Regions from separate parts of the Homo sapiens genome. Here regions 1 and 3 are each linked to region 2. The links are contacts of gene promoters, found by promoter capture Hi-C in blood cells and fetal thymus (Javierre and others, 2016). All regions are on one chromosome and are shown on one strand. Each heading gives the region's core, a stretch centred on a gene start or on the middle of the fragment in contact. The rest is flanking DNA. Distances are from core to core; before and after follow the strand shown. Region 1 holds the start of FAM114A2 (family with sequence similarity 114 member A2). Region 2 holds the start of CEP120 (centrosomal protein 120). Region 3 holds the start of NUDCD2 (NudC domain containing 2).

Region 1 (4,370 bases), core at 503-3,002, about 31 Mb before region 2:
GTGCATATAGGTTTATTGATTTACAAATCAAACTCATATTTCTTTTACTGGCATGACAATCACCGTAATTCAGTGTAATTCTCAAAAGTGTGGTGCAGGAACTCCTGGGTGTCCCTGACACTGTTTCAAAACAATTTACATAATATTAGGACATATCCCTTTTTCACTCACATTCTCACACAATATGGCACAATTTTCTAAAAGTTACATGATGATTGATATTGTAAGAGAATGAAGGTAGAAGTTACGAAAATCTAGCTGTCTTTTATTCAGCCAGACATTAAAGAGATTTGTAACAATGTAAAACAATGCCATTCTCAATAATTTTTCATTTTGGAAAATATCCTTTACAGAAATGCTATCTATGTTAACATATAATGAGTTTATTTTAAAATGAATAACCTTTGTTGAAAGTTGTTTTCTAAAATAGTAAATATTGATAGCTATTATAAACAAAAACCCTTTGAAGTTCTCAATACATTTTAAAAGTATAAAGAAATTCTAAGATCAAAAAGTTTGAGAACTGCTGCTATAATTATCAGCAGCATTTAAAAAATAAGTGGCTTCCCAAGATTCCATACTTTAGCCCCAAATTCTATGCATTTTCCATTACAACAGAAAATCAGAGGAAATGATCCATTTTATATTTAAGCAGGGGTTTTTTTGTTGTTGTTTTTTGGAATTTTAACAAGCTTCCAGGTGATATTGATGAACCTAAATTTAGAGAACCACTGTCAAAAGCAAAGGAAAATATCTGAAGAGTTTTAGAAGTGACAATTACTCTTATCTGGGAATTAAGATGATAATTCCGAGGGCATTAAATGGAGTTGGAAAACATGAGTTCTTAAAGGCTAAGTCCCTTCACCTCTCTGGGATTCAGTTTTTCTTATCTGTACAATAAGATTGATTTTAATATTTTACTAGCTCTGTCAGTCTGGATTTCATGCATTTTCACTGCTCGAGGGCAACAGAAGAGTTGCATCTTTCTGATGAGGTCCCAGGAGTAATCTTAGAGTCATAAATCAGATCATGTCATTCATCTGCTTAGAAACCTTCAATGGTTTTCCACTGGATTCCAAACAAAAATCAAACTCTTTATCCTTGCTCATAAGCCTTACAAGATTTGGGCTCAAGTCCCTGGCCTCATCTCTCTCCATTCTCACCTTGCTCCTTTTGCTCTAGCCAGTGGCCTTTGTCTTTTCCTTGACTTTGCTAAGTTTGTTCCCACTATATGGCCTTTGCACGCGCTATTCTCTCTGCCTGGAATGCTCTATTCCAGATTTTCATACGGCTTATTACTCTCCCACTTCGTTCCATCACATTATCCAGTCTAAATTTCTTTACAGCACTTACTACCACCTTAGATAATCCCGTTTGTTGACTTGTTTATAATCTGCTTTTCGCACTGCTTGAGAGCAGGGCCCTTCCGTTCGTTGACTGATGTGTCCCTGGAGCCCAGGGCAGTGCCTGGCAGGTATCTGGCTCTCAGTAAGTGTTCGATGACCGAACTCCCACACCCAGGCCAGACTTTCAAAAGAATGGCAAACATTTTCGCCTCCTGCACTCCCGACCCCAAGCCACAGGCTACGACTCACGCCTCGGCGCTCCTAGTAGTCCCCTCGCAGCGACCCCAACCAAGCCGTCACCTACCCGACCGCCGTCTAGCTCCTTCCGGCCTCAGCGGCGGCTTAACTCGGAAGTTTTCTCGGACACACCGGCACGCCTCTGCGCTGAAGGAGCACTTCCGGGGCAGTAGGAACGCCGAGTCGGCTGCCGTGGCTGTGCTGAGGGTGGCGGCCGGATAGGTGCGGAGCTTCCTGAACGAGGCAGGAGGGGTGCGAGGTTCAGGGGCAGGGCCCGGGCAGCCGAAGTCGTTAGGGAGGCGGTGACCTGACGGTGGGCGGCGGACATCTCGCGGCAGGGTCGAGGGCTGTGAAAGCGGTTTAGTGATTGAAGCGCTACGTTTGTGTGAGGAATTCTTGTCGTTGTCAGCGCCTGAGAACTTAGTTGGGAGCGGACGTTTACGTCGAATCTCTCGTTTGGGACCCCATTCTTGAATGTGGGAAGAAGTGAGAGCGCATGTTTGCTCATCTAGAGACAGCCGTATTAATAACGATAGGATACAAACCATCACCCCACCAAGTGATAGCAGCTGTTAACCTGTGGGCGGTTACGTGCCGGTCACTGTTCCAAGCCCCTCACATATCGCGTCACTGAATCTTTATAGGGACCCAGAACTCCATTTGACAGATGAGGAAACGGAGAGGCAGACAGGTGACCTGACTTCCCCACAATCGCTGCAGGACAGGAAGAAAGTAAACTCCAGAGCCCGTGCTCTTAGCTACTAAGCTGTACTGCTCTTCATTTTGGTAAATGGGGCGGGTGGAGTGTATATATACGTAATATATATGTGTGTGTGTAAGCGTATGCGTTTTTATTTCTTAAAAATATGGCTCAGCCGTATTTATTTACAGTTATTGGAATCTTTCTCCTCCAACTGAGAAAATAACTGGAGGAGAAACTACAATTATTTCTACACGCTTACTACACAATGCCTGGAAGACTTACAAAAACACTAAATAGTGCAGTTCCACGTACTTGGTGTTTATTCCTTTTTTTTTTTTAACCTTTCTCCTAGATTATGAATGAGTTGAGGAAAGAGATGGTACAGTCATTCTAATAACGATAGTAATGATAATATAAACAACCATCACCATAAAAAATTCTCTTCTGGCTTAGCTCAAATATCTGGCACAAATGAAAGAATAGAGATAACCAGTGTTTAATATTTTAGTAAAGGGACTGTTTTGGCAGGGCATGGTGGCTCACGCCTGTAATTTTAGCACTTTGGGAGGCTGAGGCAGGGGAAGATTGCTTGAGGCCAGGCCTAGGGTTCAAGACCAACCTGGCCAACATAGCGAGACCCTGTCTTTAAAAATATATTTTGGAGTATGTCCTTCCAGTCTTTCATGGAATTATATGAATTTATGTAATATGTATATTATATATTCTACATATAGTATACTGTATATATTTATGATGATGATAATGATGCGTTGCAACCTGGAGAGAGCATAAGGAAAAGATAGGAAACATTTATTCATATACACAAAACATTAATTGAACTTTGTGCAAAAACTGTCTCGTCTTTCCTATTAGATAGGCCCTTGGAGTGAATGGCTTACATTAGTTCTCTATCTCCACAGGTACTGTGGTACTACTTGGTACGTAGTAGGTACTCAAAAAATGTTTGCGAGTGAATGAATGGCTACTTCTAAGTTGGTTTGTATGTCAGTGAGTAGTTGTATCTGGATTTTTTCTCTATGTGTTTTGGAAATGTGTAATGTGTTTATATTATATGCCCATATATTCTGAACTCCATAGTGTTGTCTTAATCTACCTTTCTAGCTTCATGCCTTCCCATTGTTCTTCTCTCTGCCATGGTAACTACTCCCTACTGTAACTGTCCATGTTCCATACTGTCAGACCTCAGGCCTTTGGCTGTACCCTCATGTTATTTCCATATCCTTGAATCCTGTCATTGGCATCATCATCTGTCAAAATCATAAGCTTCTTTTAAGGCAGGTGTTGCCAACTCAGATGCCTACAGAGGTTAATCAGGTAGCATAATTTGAGTGAAGTGGATTTGCGTGGGGGATTGTAGGGAGCTGGAGAGCAACTGCCCTAGCTAAAAGGGCCCAGCGGCTATTTAGCACAAGCTAGTTATTACAGAGTTGAATGTGGGCCCGGTGTTGCTAGATCTTTTAATTTTACAAGTTAGAAGTTGGAAGCCTATATTTTTATATGAAGTCTGATTTTTAAATGTTGGCATCTAGTTTTTGCAAAGGTTAAATACTGTGCAGGCCAAATAAAAACATCTGTAGGCTGGATTTGGCACTTAAATTCCCAGTTTGTGACCACTACTCTAGGCTTATTTCAGGTACTTTGTTCATGAATTACGTTGTCTGATTCTAATGGAGTTCTGTTTTTTTTCAGCATTTTGTGTGTTGGATGGTCTGGCAGGGATGTTTCAGCATTTTGTGTGTTGGACTGAATGCAGCACCTGTTATAGTGCTGCATCCAGTCTGCCTTAGTTTTAATATGCCTTTCTTTTCTAATACATTAGAAACATTTTGATAGCATGGGTTGGGTCTAATTCTGCACTTAGTACATATCAGTACATACCTACAGCGTGTGTGTACATATGTGTGAGATGTATTGATTTCTACTCTGATAATCCTTGGTTATCCTGGAAACTAGTGTCTGTTCTTTGTAGAGACACCAATAGTATCTTGGCTTTAATTGCCAAAGAGCTCTACATCTGGAAGGAATTGAATTGAGTAACACTGGTATTCAAAAGTTGATCTGAC
Region 2 (4,696 bases), core at 481-2,980:
CAGGCTGGAGCGCTGTGGCATGATACCGGCTCACTGCAACCTCTGCCTCATGATTTCAAGCGATTCTCGTGCCTCAGCCTTCTCGTGCTTCAGCCTCCCAAGTAGCTGGGATTTCTGGCTTGCGCTACCACGTCTGGCTAATTTTTGTATTTTTAGTAGAGACGGAGTTCTGCTATGTTGGCCAGGTTGGTCTCGAACTCCTGACTCAAGTGATCCGCCCACCTCAGCCTCCCAAAGTGCTGGGATTACAGATGTGAGCCACTACCACACCTGGCCAAAAAGTCTTCATCTTTTAGAAGTACGTATCCAAAAAGATGAATTGATGTGATGTTGGGGATTTCTTTAAAAATAACACAACAGATGAAGATGATTGGTCTTAAGTTGATAATCGTTGAAGCTGGGGTCTGGGTAACTGGGGGTTCATTATATCATTCTGCTTTCTTTAAAGTATGTTTGACATCTTCCACAAAAATAATGCATTGTTCAATGATGAATCCAAAGTAGATCATTACTTTGATTTTACATTGAATAGTGCTTCATTTTAAGAATGCCTGTGATAGGACCTGAAAGGGCCTTAGAAGTAATTAGTCCAATCTCTACATATTCCTCCTTTTCTTTTGGGCAGAAAGCAAAGAAGGAAGAATAAAGAAGAGGAAGAAGAAAACAATAGTGATATTATATTATTTGCTCTCAAAATAACTTCTAAATTTCCAAAACAAGGAAGCAATAGAAGAAAAAGAAAACAGCGAGATATTATATTTGCTCTCAAAACAACTTCTCAATTTACAAAACCAGAAAGTAATAGGAGAAGCCGCACTTATGTCCACTACCTAGTGCTATCTCTGCAGCTTTATTTTATTATGATTTACTTTTGTTTTCCGAAGCAGAATTTTTCCCAAACTTAATAGTGTCCACGATCGCTCCAACCAATTCGGTTATTTAAGTTTCAAGCTAGATAACCTCCAAAAGAACTTTGCCTTTGACTTGAATACATGCTTCTTGCAATTTGAGTAGTGTTTAGGAGGCCGTTCCCTTTACAAGTCTTGAACCGTTTCTTAAATCTGAATTTGGGAGACGTTAAGGGGAAAGGGTCGGCAGACAGCACCTCAATGCCTTGTTTATTTTTGGTTTTGAGTTTGCTAATAACTTTGTCATCGGGGGTGGAAGAACCTTTATATTTCATTGCCCACGTGACAGTGTTTTTGTTTTAGGGGTAATTTCTAAGGGACAGGAAATTCTCGGGGAGTTTACGTCAGCTTTAACAAGTACAGTAATTACCGTATTGAAGCTACTTGTTTTCAAAGGTCGGAAATTTGAGGTGCCGCGTGAGCACGATTTAGGGACTTTAGAGTTTAGATTTAAGTCATTATTTTTTTGTGATTTAATTTTTTAAGCAGTGTTGACACTGGGTACGTCAACTAAGCTAGGTTTTTTTGTTTTTTTAATCCCCACTAATATAACTCTCAGGTTGTGGCTGAAGCATAAAGCAGGTAATACGCTACACTCACGCTCCTTAAAGGCTACGCAGCTTCAGGAAGCGTTTACAGCAGTAGTGCGCTTGCGCAGCTGGTCCCACACCAAGTCGCCCGCCTCTCCTCGTCCGGCTAGCAGAGGGCGCTGTGAGGTAATGAAGGCGTCCTCCTTAGGGCTCTGGAACAGAGCGTAAAAGGGCGGGAGGCGAAGCTCGCTGACGGGCGTTCTAGCCTTGACTGCTCTGTCTCTATCACCCGTTGTCCTCCAACCTCCCCTGGGCACTGGGCCTGCGGGCCTGGTTGCTAGGCGGAAGCTGGGCGCGGCGGCGGCCGCTGCGGCCGCCCGGGCGTTTGAAAAGCGGCTACGCAGGCGGCAAAAGGTCCTCGGGTGGCGGGCTTGTCTCTGCTTGCAGACTGGCAGGGCTGCAGCGTGGCTTTTTCCTTGAGTCGGGGCACAGTTAGGATCTGGGCTGGCGGCCCGAGGCAGAGGAGCCGGGCGCGCTGCAGCAGACGGCGGTGGGACCTGGCTGCGGAGCGGGGTCCGGGCATCAGGGACCGGGGGCGGGCAGTGGGGGTCCCGCCGGGGGTCCCGGATTACCCGCGACTCAACTGGACCTCACTTCCCCCCAGCCGCCTTCGCCCCCGGACCGCTCACCGCAACCATGGTCTCCAAATCCGACCAATTGCTCATCGTCGTGTCCATCCTAGAAGGTGAGCAGCCTGAGGCTTGCTTTTGCAACTGCTGCCTCCCGAGTTTTAAAAGCTTAGTGTGGGACCGAGGCCTTGTTAACCTTAAGAACCCTGTCATCTGTGCTTTTGTGGTCCCCACAGACTTGTTCAAAGTTGTACGTAGTGAGGTCTGTTAGGCAATTGATTTAAAAATCTCTCCAGGGATATGAGCGCTATTAGGGATAAGTGATATTTAGCGTGACTAGCCGTAGCCCCAGAGAATCTAGAGAAAACGATTTTCATCCAAAGCAGCACGTCGATGGCTTTTATATATGAGCTGAACGTGGTCCTGAGAAGCGCGTTCTGATCAGCGGTTCCCAATAATAGCACTTGTAAGAGCTTTGACTTGAATACAGGCTTCCTGCGATTCCAGAAGTGTTCCGGAGGCAATTCCCTTTACACGTCTTGCTGGAGGACTCAGGGGACTACAGTTCTTAAGAGGGTGTATTATACATTCCTTAAAAGGTGTGTTTTGGATGAATGACATTGGTTTATTGGGACTCATTGAGTGTCAGACACTGTGCTGGGAATGTAAGAATGAAACAGTCCTGATTCTAAAAAGCTAAGGATGTAGCAAGGAGAGTGTGTCAGCAAATAATTCATCAGGATGTGGAAGACCCTAATGAATGACCACCTCTGTCTAAGGAAACTGCGGAAGTTTCACTAGAGGAGGTGGCATTTTTTGGGGTCCTACAGATGATTAGGAATTTGTCAGGTGAAAAAAGGAAGGGCATTCCAGGCAAAGAGAAGAGCAGGGAGCACTTAAAGTATGGAAAAGCAAGACACGTTTTGCCTTGCTTAATTAAATTCACTCAGTAAACATTGGTTAAATTCAGTGTGGTTGGAGAACAGATTTGCAAGAAAGTGGAGGGCATAGGAGATAACAGGTGAATTGAGGACACTTTACGAATAGTATGTTAAGAAGGAGTCATCTTGAGCCAGAGCAGAAGCCTGGCTGCATTTTTTCCCCCATGGGAGAGTGTTTTATAAAGGCCTGGCACTGTGTGAGGGATGAGAGCAAAGGAAACATTGTAATCCTAATCTTTGAATTTTGGAACAAGAGACTGACCAGAAAAGCCATAAAGATTTGGAGCACTATTAACTGTTAGTTTACTTATTGTTTAAAAACATAGGACTGAAATAACCTTAAAATTTGGTTAACAACAGTTTTTAGACTTATAACTGACCATGCTATGAGGAAACAAATACCTCCATTCCCTCCAAGGATGTAGAGGTCTGTCCACGTGGGGAGATCACAGGACACAATATGTTGGGGTATAATATTTAAAATATGTGATATGTACTGTAAATATAGGTTTGAGGGTAGGGTGGGTGGGATGGCTGAAGTTCTTTAAATAATAAGTGAGCTTTAGATATGTGACAATAGAATTCTATGGACAACCCAGGCCAGTCTGACAACCCAGGACATAAATGCAATTCATTTGGGGAAGCTAGTTTTAGAGCAGCAGAAAATGAGGTCCTGAGAGAGGCCTGTTAGTGCTAATTGGGAGAGCTGTGCGATGTGTGTTAATATTCCTAATACAGAGTTTCAAGTGAGAGCCTCAGGCTTAAACTCAAAAGGTTAGCAGTCAAGGTCTTTCTGACCAGCTTGATTCCCAACCAAGTAGCTTGTGCCGGGGTGAGCATGGTGGGTGGAACATTGAAAAGATCAGCAAGATGACCAGGGTAGAGGAAGGTGAATATTTAGAAATGTCATGGTAAGAAATGAGCTTGTACAACTGGAGCGAATAGGCCTCAGAGGATCTTGAAAGCCAGTTTAGAATTAATGTTCCAAGAAATAGGTTGGCAGCATATATTCCTAAATAGAATGCTTTTCTTGAGTTCAGTTTAGTAGCAGTGTGCAAGGAAGAGAACCTGGAGTCAAGGATGTCTGTTAGGTTGTTTCCACAAACATACCCAAAACTAGCATGTGGTCCTCCCTCCAAACTATTCTTCTCTCTTGTTCGTACTGTATTTCCATTCATCATAACCATGCTGTTGCCTTAAGCCAAGAACCAAGGAGTCATCCTCAGCCTGGATTCACTCTCCATTTCTAACTTCCAAATGGTCATCAAGTATAATTGATTTTATTTTCTGAATAATAATAGATTCTACATACGAGTTTTTGAATGAATGAGTTTACATTGTGAGTGCCTTGGTAAGGGGCCCTCATTATCCACCTAACTTACTGTAATAATCTTTTCAGTAGTCTGATTCTTCAATGTTTTCTTCCTTTCCAGAAACATCTAGACTTCCTCCTTTACTCCCTGGGGATGATCTTTCTGAAATGCAAATCTGATTTTCTTAAAGTCCTTCAGTGTCCTAAAGGATAATGTCTGTATTTCTTAGAATGGCATACATGGCCCTTTGTGGTAGACCTCTTGCCTACCTTTTCAGTCTCATTTCCCCTCATGTATTCTCATCCCTTTGGCTTGGTGGAGGACTCGGGGGACTACAGTCCTTAAGAGTTAACTTGCAATTTCTTGACTACACTT
Region 3 (4,493 bases), core at 1,066-3,565, about 40 Mb before region 2:
ATACATCTTAGGTTGAAATATAAATTTTGGGGGTTTTTTTGCTTTTTTTTTTTTGAAACAGAGTCTCGCACTGTCACCCAGGCTGGAGTACTGGAATATGAAAAATCACCACAGTGCCTCATACACATTAAGCATCAAATTAATAATTAGTATTATTTCTGTAACTGTGAGCCTGAAATACTATATCTTTGATAAAGCCAGTTTAACCTACTATAATGCAAACAACAAAAAAACCAAAAAAACCTTAAAGCCACACTGCTGACAAAACTTAAGAGTAGGTCCTTTGATTACTCGGGAAATCATATGGTCCTTGAGTCTTTTAACTAAGAAAATAAGTTTGTGCTGATTCACTTGCTCATTTGGCCTTCCTTTGTGAGTAGTTGTATTTTCATTCACACGTTGGCTGACAAAACTTAGAGACGTAATGAGTAACCACGAAATAGTGTATGATAGTGAATAAATCATGAGCTTTAATATTTAGCTCTACCACTTACTGATTGTGCAAGATACAAAACCTCTGTTTTCTCATCTGTAAAATGAGGTCAATATCAGTACCTTCCTCACTTGGCTTTTGGAAGGAATAAACAAGATCTAGTAGCACAGTCCCAGCATACAGCATTTTTTTTTTTTCTGTAAGACAGAGTCTTGCTCTGTCGCCCAGGCTGGAGTGCAGTGGCGCGATCTCGGCTCATCGCAAGCTCCGCCTCCCGGGTTCACGCCATTCTCCTGCCTCAGCCTGTAGTCAGCTGGGACTACAGGCGCCCGCCACCGCGCCTGGCTAATTTTTTTTGTATTTTTAGTACAGACGGGGTTTCACGGTGGTCTCGATCTCCTGACCTCGTGATCCACCTGCCTCGGCCTCCCAAAGTGCTGGGATTACAGGCGTGAGCCGCCGCGCCCGGCCGCATACAGCATCTTAAATGATGAGTGCCTACCAAACACAGCTAAGGCTTCCTGGTTACTGTGCTGTGCATTGCGGTGTTAAGAGCACACGATGGGGGCTGGGTTCATATTCCAGTCCGGTCACTTTGGTAATGTAGCACTGAGCAAATTTAAGTCTCAGTCTTTTTATCAATAAAATAATAATAGGATTACCCCTTAGAGTTGGTGGGAAATTAACATAACTAATAATCGATGTAAAGCCTTAGTACGGTGCTTGAGGTATAAGTGGTCAATATCAGCCATAACTTCATTGTTTATGTTTTCAATAAGTGCTGCTGCTCTAATTTTACACCCATAAACTGCCTTTACTAATCTTCCTTCTTTTATGCCCAAATGGAATACACAAAAGAAATGCACAAGTTCAGACTACAAGTAATACTCCAGTGTTCTTATCAGTGAGGCCCTCTCGGACTTGAAAATCAAGTAGCTACCAACGTCTCGGGTCCATTCCCTTCGCCCTGCTGTAGTTTCTCCATTACCGCTGTTTATTGACAGTATTCCCCGCCTGAATGTAAGCCCCACGGGGCGGAGACTGTTTCACTGCGGTATCCTTAGCATCCTGATTAGTGCTTGGCATGTAACAGATGCTTAGAGCATATTTGAGAAAAATCAATCAACTGAATGAGCCCCAGCCCGACCCTAAAATCGCCTCCTGCTTGCCTCCCAAGAAGGGAGCTGAAAGAGGCAAAGGGCGTTAGGGCGTCTCCCGTCCCCCAGCTCTTTCCCCCTTACGCACCAGAAGGGTCATTGAATCGTTTCAAGGGCGCCTTAGGAAAGGACATGTTGACGGCCAGCTCCAGAAACTGAAGGTGACTGGCACTCCTCGACAACTGAATGCGGATTATCACTCCCTACCGGTTTCAAATTCAAATCTCCCCACATTCCCCACCCACCCCGGCGTTAGCCAATTGGAAAGCCAAACCCCTGGGCACACCAATCCCGCACAGGAACACGAAGAAAGAATGCTGGGTTCTGATTGCGTCCAATTAGCTGGCCTGCGAGTTTAGGCTGCCATCCAATAGGAGACCGTTACTGTTCCCCGCCCCACCCACCCAGTCATTCCCGGAGTTACTCAAGTGTAACCTAGCATTTGCGCAAGCGCACTTCCCTCCGGAGACGTTAGAAAGTGCATTTTGGCGTCACTTAGGGGACGGTGTAGTGAGTTCCGGCTTCACTGGTTCCAATTCTGTCCCATTGTTCGTTGCATGTGAACTTTTCTGGATTTCAGTTCTTTCATCCGGGGCCTGCCGGTGCCGTAAACGGCCATTCAAAGGGAAAAACGAACACGCACACCAAAGCGCTAGCTTGCGTTCCTGCGCATGCGCAGTGACCCGAGCGGAGAGGCCGAGGCGTAGCCTAAGCGTGGGATTCCGCGCGTGCGCTCGGCTCCGCCTGGTGCGGCCGCGGCCGGGAGGGACTGGATTATGTCGGCCCCGTTTGAGGAGCGGAGTGGGGTGGTACCGTGCGGGACCCCGTGGGGCCAGTGGTACCAGACCTTGGAGGAGGTGTTCATTGAAGTTCAGGTGCCGCCAGGCACGCGCGCCCAGGATATCCAGTGCGGCCTCCAGAGCCGGCATGTGGCGCTGTCGGTGGGCGGCCGCGAGATCCTCAAGGTAGCGGCAGCTCGGGGCTTGTGTTCAGTTTCCTCTTCCCAGACGCCCCCAGCCCCGTTTCCCTGAACGACTGTTGGGTGTCCCGACGGCTCCTGTGGCTGGCAGAAAGAGAAAGAGGATAACACTGACCAGGTTTGGGTCTGGTCAGAGCCCCCGCCTCTTCAGGGCAGGTGCTGAGTTGTGGAAATTTGAGGAGCCTATTTTCGTGTTTAGTTTTCAAACTAAGACTGCTGCTTCTGCTTCTCTGACGGGCTTCAGCTGGGAACAGATTAACTAGGTTGCTAAAGGAACAAATATTTCTTCCGTGCACTGAAGACAGGCAGGAAGACAACAGATAACGTACCTGCAGTGGAGAGGTTAAGCTCCTGTACGGAAGCGTAATTCATAAATAGATAAATATAGGAAAGGACAACAAAGAAAATAGGGATAGAATAACGGGCAGAGAATTTAGAGATGATGTCAGGTGATTAGTTTTCTCATCTAAAAGCTTGAAAATCCTGCATGTTTGTGGAGTGGTCAAGCAGGTGGTGAAGAGGTGTGTGCATAAAATAAGTAGTACTCCTTTTATTTCTTTTCACCAATGCTCTTTGGATCTGGACCCGCTTTTTCTTTGTTAAGTGTATAATTAAACTAACAGGTTGAAATTAGATTTAGTTCTCAGGTTAGATGCCCAAGATGTTTGATGGCAGTGTAATATGGTGAAGGGAGACTACTTGTTTCCTAGTTTTGTAAACTTGGGCGAGAGATTGTTCAGTGTCTCTATATCTTCCTTATCCACAAGATAAGGTAGTTATAGTACCCTTCTCATGGGATTGTTTTGAGCTTAACATGGTATTCACGTGTATGAAGAGCTTGGAGTATTCACTGGTATGTAATAAGTTCATACTATATGTTAGCTATTAGCTATTATATATATTACAGTATATGGAGGTGCTTTGAGTGCCTCAAGATTCGTGTGAAAGACATTATGTCAGCTTGGATCTCAGTTACTTTTCTGAATTGTACAATTCATAGTTTCCTCAACAATGGTTTTAGATTACGATTATAAATTAGTAAATCCAGTAACTTTCGGAATTTAGCAGTAGCTGCTGAATTTGGGATTTCTGATGTACGTATAGACCAGTGGGATTTTTTTCTCACTAATTTTGACATATTTTAAAATGTGGGCTTTTCCTAGTGACATTTAATTTCACTTTCTATAACTTAAATTTGGCAACAAATTAAAATGGATTTGAGTTTAGGCATTCTCTCTTTAAAAAAAAATATATATTTATTGAGACAGGGTCCCTGTCTCCCATGCTGGGGTGCAGGGGTGAGATTGTAGCTCACAGCAGCCTCAAACCCATGGGGTCAAGCAATCCACGTTGGCCTCCAAAGTCCTGGGATTACAGGCCTGAGCTACTGGGCCTGGTGCAGTCTCTTTTAAATTTATATTTTGTTTATTTTTTTAAAAAACATGAGTTTGTGAACAGTTAGTCACAACTAATCTATCAAATCTGGAATACGTAAAGTTTTTTTAATGCCGATTGCCCAACAAAAAGATTAAAACGTTTTTAAAAGTTTACTTTAAAAACAACATTTTGCCGGGTGCGGTAGCTCATGCCTGTAATCCTGGCACTTTGGAAGGCCTAGGCGGGCGGATCACAAGGTCAGGAGTTCGAGACCAGCCTGGCTAACACGGGGAAACCCCATCTCTACTAAAAATACAAAAATTAGCCGGGCGTGGTGGCGGGCGCCTGTAGTCCTAGCTACTTGGGAGGTTGAGGCAGGAGAATCGCTTGAACCCTGGAGGTGGAGGTTGCAGTGAGCCAGATCGTGCCACTGCAGCCTGGGCGACAGAGCGAAACTCTGTCTCAAAAAAAAAAAAAAAAAAAAAAAAAAAGACAACATTTTTTAGTTTTAGCAGGAGATCCCTTCTTGTGGTTAATTTAAATTGGT

What was found. Contacts are between HindIII fragments. The CHiCAGO score rates a contact against its expected background, and 5 or more counts as called.
Region 1: a contact is called between the fragment with the promoter of FAM114A2 here and the fragment with the promoter of CEP120 in region 2, in 1 of 17 cell types (total CD4 T cells). The highest score is 9.8, in total CD4 T cells.
Region 3: a contact is called between the fragment with the promoter of NUDCD2 here and the fragment with the promoter of CEP120 in region 2, in 1 of 17 cell types (fetal thymus). The highest score is 5.5, in fetal thymus.

Annotation. Positions count from the first base shown.
Region 1 is chr5:154,036,292-154,040,661 of GRCh38, reverse strand. FAM114A2 (family with sequence similarity 114 member A2) reads left to right here and starts at 1,752. Exons shown (of 14, transcript NM_018691.4): 1 at 1,752-1,805. It overlaps MFAP3 (microfibril associated protein 3), which reads right to left and starts at 1,695. Exons shown (of 3, transcript NM_005927.5): 1 at 1,651-1,695. The HindIII fragment of the contact is 2,878 bases long and covers 695-3,572 here.
Region 2 is chr5:123,420,437-123,425,132 of GRCh38, reverse strand. CEP120 (centrosomal protein 120) reads left to right here and starts at 1,730. Exons shown (of 20, transcript NM_001375405.1): 1 at 1,730-2,183. The coding sequence starts at 2,135. RefSeq lists a silencer at 2,030-2,189 and an enhancer at 1,519-2,464. The HindIII fragment of the contact is 3,797 bases long and covers 1-2,237 here.
Region 3 is chr5:163,457,924-163,462,416 of GRCh38, reverse strand. NUDCD2 (NudC domain containing 2) reads left to right here and starts at 2,315. Exons shown (of 4, transcript NM_145266.6): 1 at 2,315-2,555. The coding sequence starts at 2,367. It overlaps HMMR (hyaluronan mediated motility receptor), which reads right to left and starts at 1,785. Exons shown (of 18, transcript NM_001142556.2): 1 at 1,679-1,785. The coding sequence starts at 1,724. RefSeq lists enhancers at 1,539-1,598, 2,349-2,598 and a silencer at 1,929-2,018. The HindIII fragment of the contact is 3,644 bases long and covers 1-3,044 here.